2 separate regions of the Homo sapiens genome follow, and region 1 is linked to region 2. The links are contacts of gene promoters, found by promoter capture Hi-C in blood cells and fetal thymus (Javierre and others, 2016). All regions are on one chromosome and are shown on one strand. Each heading gives the region's core, a stretch centred on a gene start or on the middle of the fragment in contact. The rest is flanking DNA. Distances are from core to core; before and after follow the strand shown.

Region 1 (5,453 bases), core at 2,851-5,350, 190 kb before region 2:
GGAACAATCCAATAGTTCTTTCCTGGATGTCTACGCGGAGGTCTTCACTAGAAATTGCAATGGAGAGGTGAGTAAGGTGGGAACAGAGAAGTCCTGGAGCTCAGAGGGGCTGGGCAGAAGATAAAGGTTTGGTAGCCCTCAACATAAAGATGTCATTTAATACGGTGCTAGAGGTGACATCGAGGTGAGGAACGACAGAAGGAGAAGAAAATGGCCACTCATTACTGAGAGTTGGAAGAAAGATGTGTGGAGTGTTCTGCATTAGAACAAATGAATGCATGCAGAAATGAATGAATAAAGCCCACATCCCTGCATTAGGAGGGTCATCTTATTCCTCTCTATCTACAACCTCTATAGTTCACTGTAGAATTTCAGAGCGATGGCTATGACGATTTTGATCTTAGAATCAATTTGATTATTTAACGCCATCCCTGATACATAACCCATTTATCTTCATACAGGCTTTTAAGGACTTCCCAATTGGATTCTGTTTCTACTGACATCCATATAAATTGGAACCTGCTCCTTCCCTTCAATTCTTTCCCCAGAAGTGAGAGCTGATAGCCCCAGGTAAGTCCCCAGCCCCCACTGAAGACGCATTTCTTCTCTGAGGGTTACCTTGAGAGACAGAGGCTCTGTTGGTTATGATTAGATGGTTTACTAACATAATTGTGAACATAATTTGTTCTGATCTGCTTCTGCCTTCCAGTCAACCCACGTTCCGTATATTAGAAGAAGAAAGGGTTGGTGTGTGTGCATGTGCGTGCACACACACAAGTGAAGAGTGTTTAGTTCTGCCTGTCTGTGCCTCAGGGAATGGAATGTAACAGATGTTACAGTAACACACATTTTTTGCTTTAAGAAAAGGATGAAGGAGGTGGAGTGGGCCAACTTGTAGACACTTTGGATTCCAAATCAAACCAGAAAAAAAAGAAAAGGCTGCACACAGTTAGAAGAAAGTGCAAGCGGAAAAGAACCCCCACCAAGTTCAAAGGGACTTGTGTTTAATCAGACAAAAACAATTTTTATAGCCTCGGGAGCCCGTGTGGTGTGTGAGGAAGTTGTGCAGCAGGATGGCATTAGGCACTCAAGCCAGCATGCTTTTGTGTTATTTTCTTCTTTCTTTGTTTGCAACCGGGGTTCAAAGAAATTCACTGTGCAAAACAGATACTGAAGTAGATCATACCCACGAATTAACATTGTCATGACAAGCAGCTCTGTGTTATGAGCAAAATTACAAGTGACCCATCAAATAAAGCAGTTATTGTCTAAGTAAGAGCTCCTTTCTTCCAGGATTCCACCGTGTTGCTAGCTTTGTCTCTTCCACTGAAACGCTCATGCACCTGATATGAACTCCAAGCAGCCTCCTGAACATATTCAGTGAGCCTGACTTCAAGAGAAAGCCCCGAACGATGAGGAATTACCAGCTTGCAAGACATAGAGAACCCATTCCTTCTGAAAAATCATTTTCCTTCCTGAGCCCATTCACACAGGGCTTTGACTGTTTCCTACCTGAAGGTCACATGCATGGCCAAATCTCCATCTCATTAATTACAACTCTTGGCAAGCCATTAAAAATCTCATTTCATTTTACCATCCAACCTCCTTTTAACTGACTTTTCATAATTATAATTCTATTTTTGATATACTGGACCTATTAAATTTAATGCCATACAGAGATTTTAGAACTCCTTAAAAAAAGACTCAAATTGGACTGTGTCCACCAAAGGATGTGTAGTCCTTGCTTAGGAATATGAAAGGGGAAAACTGCAGTGCATTCTATTTTCATCCACAGAGGAAGAAAAGTCAAGCTAATTGCATATGGTCAGTATAATAATGCTGTCATTCTAGAAGGGCTATAATTAGCGAGAATTGTTTTCACAAACAACCGACCAAGCCCATGACTCCAGCTTGCATTAGTTCTTTTTTCCCCACCAGTTATAAACATTTCTATTTTTGCTCCTCCCCAAACATAAACATTACTCCATTAAAAATACCCAGGGAGAGGAGATCCTGACAGTATAACTGCAAACTCTGGGAATAGACATAAGCCTTTTTGCAAATGTTGAGTCTGTTAAAAGGATTAGAGTGCCAAGAGAGGGTTGGAGGAACTATTATCCAACAAGCTAAACTTTACCTGGTAACATCAAGGCGGGAAGCCCCAGGTGAGGCACCTCTCCTGGACAGAGAGGAGTGAGCACTCCAAAGCCCCATGTGAAGATGAGGGGCCATTGGGATCTTTCACATCTGAAGATATATAAGGCAAAACTTACTTAGCTCCACGTCATGTCGTACAGTATGGATGAATAACTATGGACAAAATTCTCTCTCACTTTAAACTACAGTTATTTAACAAACATTATTTGGACAGGAATTATGATCAGTGCATTTTCCAGTGCTGAAATTCAACTAAGAAACAGGGATTGTTGAATTTTGTCACACTAGACTGAGACAGTGGATCATCTGGAGTATCTAGCACTGATTCTCTCCCCAACATATGTTCAGAGTCCTGTTGCTCCAGCTTCTATAACACACTTTCTTCTGTCCCCACTGCTTTTTGTTTGGACCCTCCATACCTCTCATTCCATCACTGGTTGTCCACCTATGCCAAGTCTGTTCCTTGGTGCCTGGGCGCTCCAGTCAGCATCTCTAACATGAAACCTCAATAAGACCAAAGCCACTAAGAACCACACTGGCTCCATTTTACCTTCAAACCCATTTTCAGTGCTGTCCCTTGTGCAATTTTGGTTCTAACTGTAGTGAGTGCTTTTGGTCCAGGGACCACCCAGAGCTCCCTTGACTTCCCTTTCCTTACCTGGTGGTCTGACGCCTGTCGTTCTGACTCCAGCTGGGATGACAGCTGCCACAGAACCTCTCTGTGCATCTCCTTCAACAAGAGGAAGGGTCTTCCCTGTGCACACAGTGTCCAGACCTTGCCTCTCAGGTCCTATGCTGCAGCGTTCAATTTGTCTATTGACACATCCATCTTTCCACTAAATGGCAGGTGCGCTGCTATGTCCTACACTCCCAGTGCCTAATGCAAAGGCTGCCCTGATGCAGGCACTTGATAAAGATGTGATTCAATGAATGAATGGATGTGGGTTCAAAGAGTGGCTGAATGAATAAATGTCAAACACATTGATGAATGAATGAACATAAGTCATTCAGTGCACCCTCTATGTTGAAAGAAACGAAGCTGGAAAATAAGACAAAGCTTGGGATGCTAGGAGAGAGTTCTTTGAACTACATTTGGAGCATACCTGTCCTCTATGCTATGACAAATATGCCTGGAATCTAGAAAAGGAGGCTCTAGGTTGAGGCATTGAGGTACATGATGAGATAATTTTCTCTCAAAATTTTTTGATTCAAGGAGCAAAGCACTGGTTCAGACCCTCTTGCAAAGACAGTAGGATGTGGGGCTATGGAAAAACTCAAAGTGAAAAAGGTGAGCACATACATGTTAATTAGGGCTCAGTCCATTTCCTCTCCTAGACAGGCCCCCAGATCCTCAGCAGCAGCACCCAAACCAGACACATACACACTCACGGACACACACACAAAGCAGGAATACCACAGTAGCAGCTCCTCCCCCCACCAGCTAGAGGCTGCAGAATATGAGAACCTGGCCTTTGCAGTGTAACAGGCCAGGAATCTAGCCTCTGCTCTGTTCCATAAGCACCATGGGTTCATGGACTAGTTAATTAAATTCCTTAGTTTTTTTCCTCAGCTACATAAAAGGGGAAAAATAGTCACTTTATACAATTTTATAAAGACTGAATGGCATACTGTATGTAAGGCACTCAGTAAGCATTTGTTGTTGGATTGCTATTGTGAGGCATTGTTGAACTTGACATTGCTATGCTCAGCTTGGCTTGGTGTTTATCCAGTAGATTCCCTTTATAACATAATGGCCAGAATAAAGGAATGGCCAGAGAAGGAATTTCCTAGCATAACCAGACTGAAGCTGAGTTGATGATAGGTTAGACATCTATGGAATCTGAAATGAGTCAGTCCTTCCTTTCCTGAAGGTCATGATGTAACTTTTGCACCTATAATAACTATTCCCCTACAGCTGATTTTGCTGGTTTTTAAGTCAAAATTTAACCAATTCCAATTAATTCCGTCTTTATATTTGCCACCACTCCATGTTGGCTTGTTAGGCAATTAAGTATTCAAATTAGAGTAACTCTCAAATATTTCCTTGCAGAGGAAAAACAAAGAAACAAAAAACTATGAAAAAAATTACCCTTTAAAGGCAAAATGTCCATCCAGTTTTGAAGATTAAGAACCACTGGGGCAGAAGAGGGAGAATGACCTAGAATTCAGAACTGCAATGATAAAATTATTCCTTTGACAACACTAGGTGGCTGATTCTCCTAAGGTTGTCTAATAGATTTAAAAATTTTTGCTATCCTTGTTTTATGGAAATATAATGAGAAATATAGACATGGTTTTGTTTAGTTTTTAAATTCAAGATAAACAAGAATTTCAACTGTGACATTATCTCTCAGCAATAGCCTTTGAATCTCTTGTGTTGTTCAATGAACTACTCACTAGATGAACCACTGGCCTTTGCAGGTATTAACCTCTGCAGTAGGTCATCCTACTTCATCTGTACTGTTAGTAAATTAATCAAAAGCTAGCATCAGGTATGCACACACCTGCAGAGATAATGTGTACAGTGTTCTCCAGAGGGATGGGATTTGATTCTGTAGGTGACACTGATGGAATACAGCAGTCAGGGTCTTAAGAAATTGGATAGATTAAATATATCACAAAAGAGACATTTTAATAGTCTAAAAATCAGTAAAGGTGTTTTTCAAAATACATATAATTGAGAAAATATACACTACCCTAAAGAGAGAGTAGATTATGAGATAGAGATGCAGGAAAGAACTATCTCAATTGTGTCCCCCAAAGCAAATAAATTTTTATTAAGTCCAGTACCTTGCTTTTTAAAACAACACGATAGCTTACAAAAGAAATGAAGCTTTAGTACACACTCTTGGAAATACCTTTTCAGATGATGGTGAAAATAATAAAACTGCAATGAAAATAATGACACCCATAATAGGACACACTGGGTGCATACAATATTCTCGGCACTAGGCTGAGCAACACAGTGGGTATTTTACATACACATTCCTGAATCCTTGAAAAATCCATGAAGCCATGTATTAGTACTTACATTATTCATGCAAGAAAACTAGAACTCTAAGGAAAAGCAAGAAACACAAACGATTCTTTTCATTTTATAATTTTCTTTATCAGTCTGTGATTTATCTTTTGAATGCCTGATTTTCTATCTTCTTCATCCTAGGGGAGAGAGTATTAAGTTCTTTAACAGCAAAGGATTAAAAACATAGTCATTCTCTCCACCAAGATCTATAAAGTATTTTTTAGGGGCATAACAATAAATAAGACAGAAATCTTGCCCTTTAAAAACTCAAGTC
Region 2 (5,363 bases), core at 28-2,527:
CAGGCACCGGCCGCCGCGGGGAGCGAGCCGGGGGAATCACTCCTCCACGACCGTTCCCACGCACATCTTGGGAGAAACCATTCCCTCTGGAGCCCGATCTGCCCGAAACCCTGGGGTCTGAAACCCTGAGCCGCGGTGTGCAAAATCCGTGGAGCAGCGGAGGGATGCCTGGTGAAAGGGGCTCGCCTAGCTGCAGCGCACCTGGCTGGTGGTTCCCCAGGCCTCTGCATCCCCCGCCTTAGTGTCTTTCATTAACCAAGGCGCTTGGCGGAGTTGAGCCCAAGTCCCATTGCCTCCCGGTTCCCCTGTAAGGAAAGCAGGAAAACCTGCCCAAGCCGGTGGGGCTGCGAGGTGGCCGCTCCCGAACCGCCAAGTCCCGACCTCCGTGTCCCCTGCCCCCGGCTCGCGGCAGTGCGAGCCTGGAGGCGCGCCGGGGGCGGGCACAGACCAGTGTGCGCACCTTTCCGGGTGTTGGGCAGGGGTCCCGTCTCGCCCACCGCGACACTCCGGCTCCTTACCTCTCCATGCTCAGACCTCGGCACAGGCGGGTACACAAACTTCCAGCCCGTGCACTAGCTCAACTGTGGGCGCCCCCGGACTGACGGTCGTCCTAATCCTGTACGCGCAACCCCCGCCCAGGTGCCTGCTGATGGATCCCACCCGAGATCGGCACCACCCACCAGCCGACCGCTGCAGTCCCCGGGTCCCGGCCAGCGGCGCGGCGCGGCGCGGCGCGGTCAGGGGCTCCTGCCAAGGCCACGCAGGAATCGGGCGGGGGTCGCTCACCAGGTGCGAGGAGCGCTGGTGCCAGTCATCCAGCGCCTGGGGGCCAGAGCGGCTCCGAGGATCCTCTTCAGCACCTGGCTAGGGAAGTGGAGGCAGCAGCTGCAGCCGCCCCCTGCCACTTCCCCAGAGCCGCCCCCTACTCGCTGAGTTCCAGAATGGGGGCACCGGCTTGGGGGCCACGAGCACGGTCCCCGAGCGCGCGGCCAACCGGTGGGTGGGCAGGTTCGCGCCCAGCAGAGACGACCCTCGAGGTGGCAAAGTTGGGTGTCCAAGCCAGCTCCGCGGGGCAGTCCTGGGTGGGAGAAGGGAGCGTCCCGGGATGAGCGACACTGGCCGGGCCGCCCCTGCACGGGGAAGGTGGAGGGCCGGGGCTGCAGCGGGCCAAGGGCCGCGGCTGGCCTGAGGCTGCGAAGCCCACCCGCGGCGGGAAAGCAGCGCTCGGGAGCGGGCTCAGGGAGAGCAGCCGCCACCGGCGCCGCCTTCCCGGCAAGTAGATCGGCGCGGGGCGAGCGGGCGCGGAGAGCGCGGGGCGGAGAGCGCTGGGCGGGGAGCGGGGGACAGCCTGGGCCCACCCCCGCCCCGCCCCGCCCCTGCCCCGCCCCCGCCGCCGCGCCGCCTCCTCCTCCTCCTCCTCCCCGCCGGGGTGAAACTCGAGCGCCCCACCCGCGCCTGACCTCCCCGAGCCCCTCCCCGGGCCCCGCCCCTTCCCGGTACAGGACCCCCACCTTCGCTCCTGGGAGCCCCGCTGCACCCCAGGAGTTCCATTCCAGCCTCCCCAGTGCGAGTGCGGCCGAGCGCTGACTTTTGGGGGCTCCCTCCCCCGTCTCACTGGGTCCCTCTGCGGCTCCCCCGCCCGCTGTCCCGGTTCAGACGTGGCTGCACCCCGGAGGGGGGCGCCGGCCGAGACCTGAGACGTGGCGCTCCCTCTCTGCCGGCCTCGGCTTCAGGTACGTGCGGTTCCCTCGGCTAAATCTGGCCCGGGGGATGGGGGGCAGGGGCCGTCTGGTCCTCCGGAACTCGAACTTTGTGATTTTGTTCTTTCTGTGTGACATCCTCATCCGTTCTGAGGGAGAAACTCCTTAAAGAAGACGAGAGAGTCAGTCGTTGCGGGTTCTTGGAGGAGCACTTTGGGGGTGAGACTCCCGGCTAGTTCGGGTCGATTTCAGCGGGATTAAGTCAAGGAAATGAACAAATCTGACGAATCAGGGAGGCCAGAGAAGGCGTCCCCAGGTAGCCACGCTGAGCGTTAAGAGAGAAGTCCCGTATGGTCAAAGTCATTCGTCCAATTCTGTGTCAATTATTCCTTGTTGCACTTTTGCAGGATCCTTGGGCCTTACTAAGTACTCAGGTGAAAAGTTGATAATTGGGAAGCAAGTAAAGTACCTTTGAAGACGTGTATAATTGGACACTTTGTTGCAGTTCTTCAGTTTCTGGAGGAGGCGGTGGGGGGGGAGAGGGAGGGGGTCAGCCTCGCGAAAAGAGCAAATGGTAAAGTTATAGGAGTATAAGGCATAAAACTTGGGTTGGGAGTCCTGACTGGCCTTGAGTGGCCCTTTCCCACTGGATGGGGGTGCGGGACAGTATCTCTGGGCCCTTTTTACTCAGTCTGCGCCTCAGAGGGAGGCTTGAAGGTCCCCTGCATGAGGAAATGTGTGAATTGCCCCCTCCTGACCGCAGTGAGGTAGGGACCCCCGCAAGGACCCACGTTCACACCAGCGCCCTTCCAGCCAGTGGTGGGGTATGGATGGGCCTCGCTGGTCCTGGGCATGGTCCGGTGCGTCCATAAGGGTTCCATTGAGCTCATCCATAAAACAAAGAAGCTATTGCAGGCTGCAGGGTGTCATAGCTCGCACAGTAGCCATGCAGACCTAAGAGGACAATGGAAATACAAATTGCTATCGATGTGTCTTTATTTTCTAGAACTTTTTTTTAAAATAAAAGAATTAAGTGAAAGCAATTCCGAAGGTTTCTATGAAAGCCCAGCCCATCCCCAAATGCCCAGTCTCTGGCACGGGTGATCTGGCTGTCTTGGGTACTCAGGCCTTACTGGGATTTCCTTTAAGACCTCTGGGAGGAAGTGTCAGTAGCTGGGCAGGCCTTCTTGGCAAGCATTCCTCCCTGGGTTGTGGCGGGGGCTCCCGGCCTGCTGTGTGGCAGCTGCAGGCTCCTGGGGACCTGAAGGAAAAGCTTAACCGTTCTCCCTTCCCTTGCTTGGCACTTAGAGCACTAGTTCCATTCCAGACATTCCGATTATCTTGCCTACGTGGCACAGAGGCCTAGGAGCCTCCCTGGGAGGAAGAGGCAGGCCAAGGTCTTGCCTGGCTGCTTCTAGGGGGAAAGATGTAGGGAGGAAGCTGCCTTATGCTTGGATCTGCAGCCTTTGCCTGGACCTGTGGAGCCTACGTGGCCAGGGTGAGGGAGACAGAAATTAGAACCCAATGTATTCAGCTAATCCTCTTCTTGCCTCTGAACATTGCCGTTAATACTTGAAAAGAAAAAAAAAAAGCAAAAAAACTCTTGGCATATAGAGCTAAGCAGTGGGAAGAAGATAGCTTTCTAAACCATGACCCAATAGGTCTGATAACATAACATTTAACTGGATAAATTACATAATTTTGTATATATGTAGGGGGGAGTTGAATTCAGTTTTGCTGTTTACAGGCTGCACCAATGCATTGTTAAAAGATGTATATTTTAGTGATAATTGTGATTAATTACAAAATAATTGCTAATAAGCAGGTAAATAAACCAAATTATAATTTAGAGTGCATCCTTTGTTTAAAGTGAAATGGATCTAAATTGAGGATATAATTTTGAGTTTTAATCTGGGGAAAGTTCTTTAACTTTTCTGAGCTACAGTCTCTTCACCTGGAGCTTAGACACACCAGCCTGGCAGGGGTATGTCAGCTGTCTGCTTGAAAGGAGAAAGACAGTAATCTGTGTGAAATACTCACCGAGCACCCAACATATAAGCAGGCTCTTCATAAAGTCATTTTGAGGTATCCACAAGTATTTCTTTTTTCTAAACAAAATTTCTTTGTTTTTTGTTTGTTTTGCTTTGCAAAGGTCTTGCTTGCTAGAAAGCTATCTGCATTAAGCTGCTTCTCATCACATTATAAAACTAAGGATGATCATTTTTAAACAAACAAAAGTATTTAGTTATCTTTTCAAAGTAAAATATAGCTTTCCCTAAACTGTTTTAGGTGAGCCATGCACACAATGTGAAAGAATGAAGAAACCAACAAAACACTTGGTGAAAATGATGAATTCTGGGGCGCTGATTCATGTGACTTGAAAAATGCCATCCATTTCCTGATTCACCTCAATTCTGTTCGGAACTATGAAAGATCATTTATGTTTCTGCACTAATTGACCAATTTTGTCTTGTCTTTACTTCCCTCCCTAGTGCTTGAATTTCAGCCACATCCCTAAGCTGCCATCTCAGACCAGAGGAACAGGGAGGGGGGCTTTCTGGAAAGAACATCACCTGGAAGAAATCAGGACATGACTGTGGGCCATGAGTGACCTTCAAAGGAAAGCCGGGTATCTGTGGTCTTTAAGATGTGGTAAGATTGTATTAAAATTATAGAAAAAAACCTCAATCCAGAAATCGTGGCCTCTTGACATTTACATCTTAACTGCATTTTCCTACCAATGAGATGCATTACAATCATCCTCCATAAGTGTTCTCTTTTTACCCCTGTTTCCATTCTTTTAGATCCATGACATTTAAAAACTGAAGAAATGGAAAGATCATCTGATCAGGCCCATCAGTCTTTTTCCTAATGCTAAACATTGGTACAAAGACGTGAAGTTTGATGTCTCACTAAGATTGCCTAGGGCTGCTTTATTGCTCACCTACTTCAAAGTATTGGGAAAACATGATTATGGGTACAGGTGATGCTGTGTTGCCCCCAGACAGGTTTCTTTTGTCAGGTTCTTTTGATGGATTAGGAACCTACAAGTGGGGAGATTTTAGGGAAATAGCCCCTCCACTTGGATTTCACCAAAACGTCTTTAGGGTTCTCTTACCCCAAGAAACACGCATTCCTCTTTAGTGTGGCAGCCCACTCTATTGGCAAAGTTAAGCAGACCAGTTTTACTAAAAAGGAGCCACCCAGAAACTTAGACAGAAAATACTTGAGGCACAGATGAGAATGAGCACAAATGTGCATAGCAAGTGCAGTTTCCTGGCCCTTAAACTGAAGGGCCAGGTCAGTCTGCTCCTCCAGGCACAGCCTGGGACCCCATCATGTGCCCCACTCTGCAGTCTGAGCTTCCACTCAAGTCCACCAGGGCCTGCCTCACATATATATACAAGACCCAATGTCAGAGTCTGCCTCTGCCCATGTCTGGTCAGAGGGTTGCACTTTGCCACTGCTACATGTTCCCAGAGGTTGGCACAGCATGACCTGGACCTCACCTAACCCAGGCAAACTCTGCTCATCTTCGAGCTCTCTGGAACCCATTTCTCAAGGGAGAACCACATTCCCCCACCTCACAGCCAAGTTCAAGGAAGCAGCCTGGCTAAAGCAATGACTCAAGGATACCAGAAGCAGAGCACGCATTTAAGAAGA

The links. Contacts are between HindIII fragments. The CHiCAGO score rates a contact against its expected background, and 5 or more counts as called.
Region 1: a contact is called between a fragment that was not itself captured here and the fragment with the promoter of SEMA5A in region 2, in 2 of 17 cell types (M1 macrophages and M0 macrophages). The highest score is 6.2, in M1 macrophages.

Annotation. Positions count from the first base shown.
Region 1 is chr5:9,355,563-9,361,015 of GRCh38, forward strand. The region is part of intron 3 of SEMA5A (semaphorin 5A); the gene reads right to left. Among named protein-coding and RNA genes, the nearest start is that of SEMA5A-AS1, 150 kb to the right of the region's middle. The HindIII fragment of the contact is 1,776 bases long and covers 3,213-4,988 here.
Region 2 is chr5:9,544,798-9,550,160 of GRCh38, forward strand. SEMA5A (semaphorin 5A) reads right to left here and starts at 1,278. Exons shown (of 23, transcript NM_003966.3): 1 at 787-1,278. SNHG18 (small nucleolar RNA host gene 18) reads left to right here and starts at 1,403. Exons shown (of 3, transcript NR_045196.2): 1 at 1,403-1,733; 2 at 4,193-4,352; 3 at 4,505-5,363. It overlaps SNORD123 (small nucleolar RNA, C/D box 123), which reads left to right and starts at 4,030; the gene lies at 4,030-4,117. RefSeq lists a silencer at 1,212-1,401. The HindIII fragment of the contact is 4,033 bases long and covers 1-2,971 here.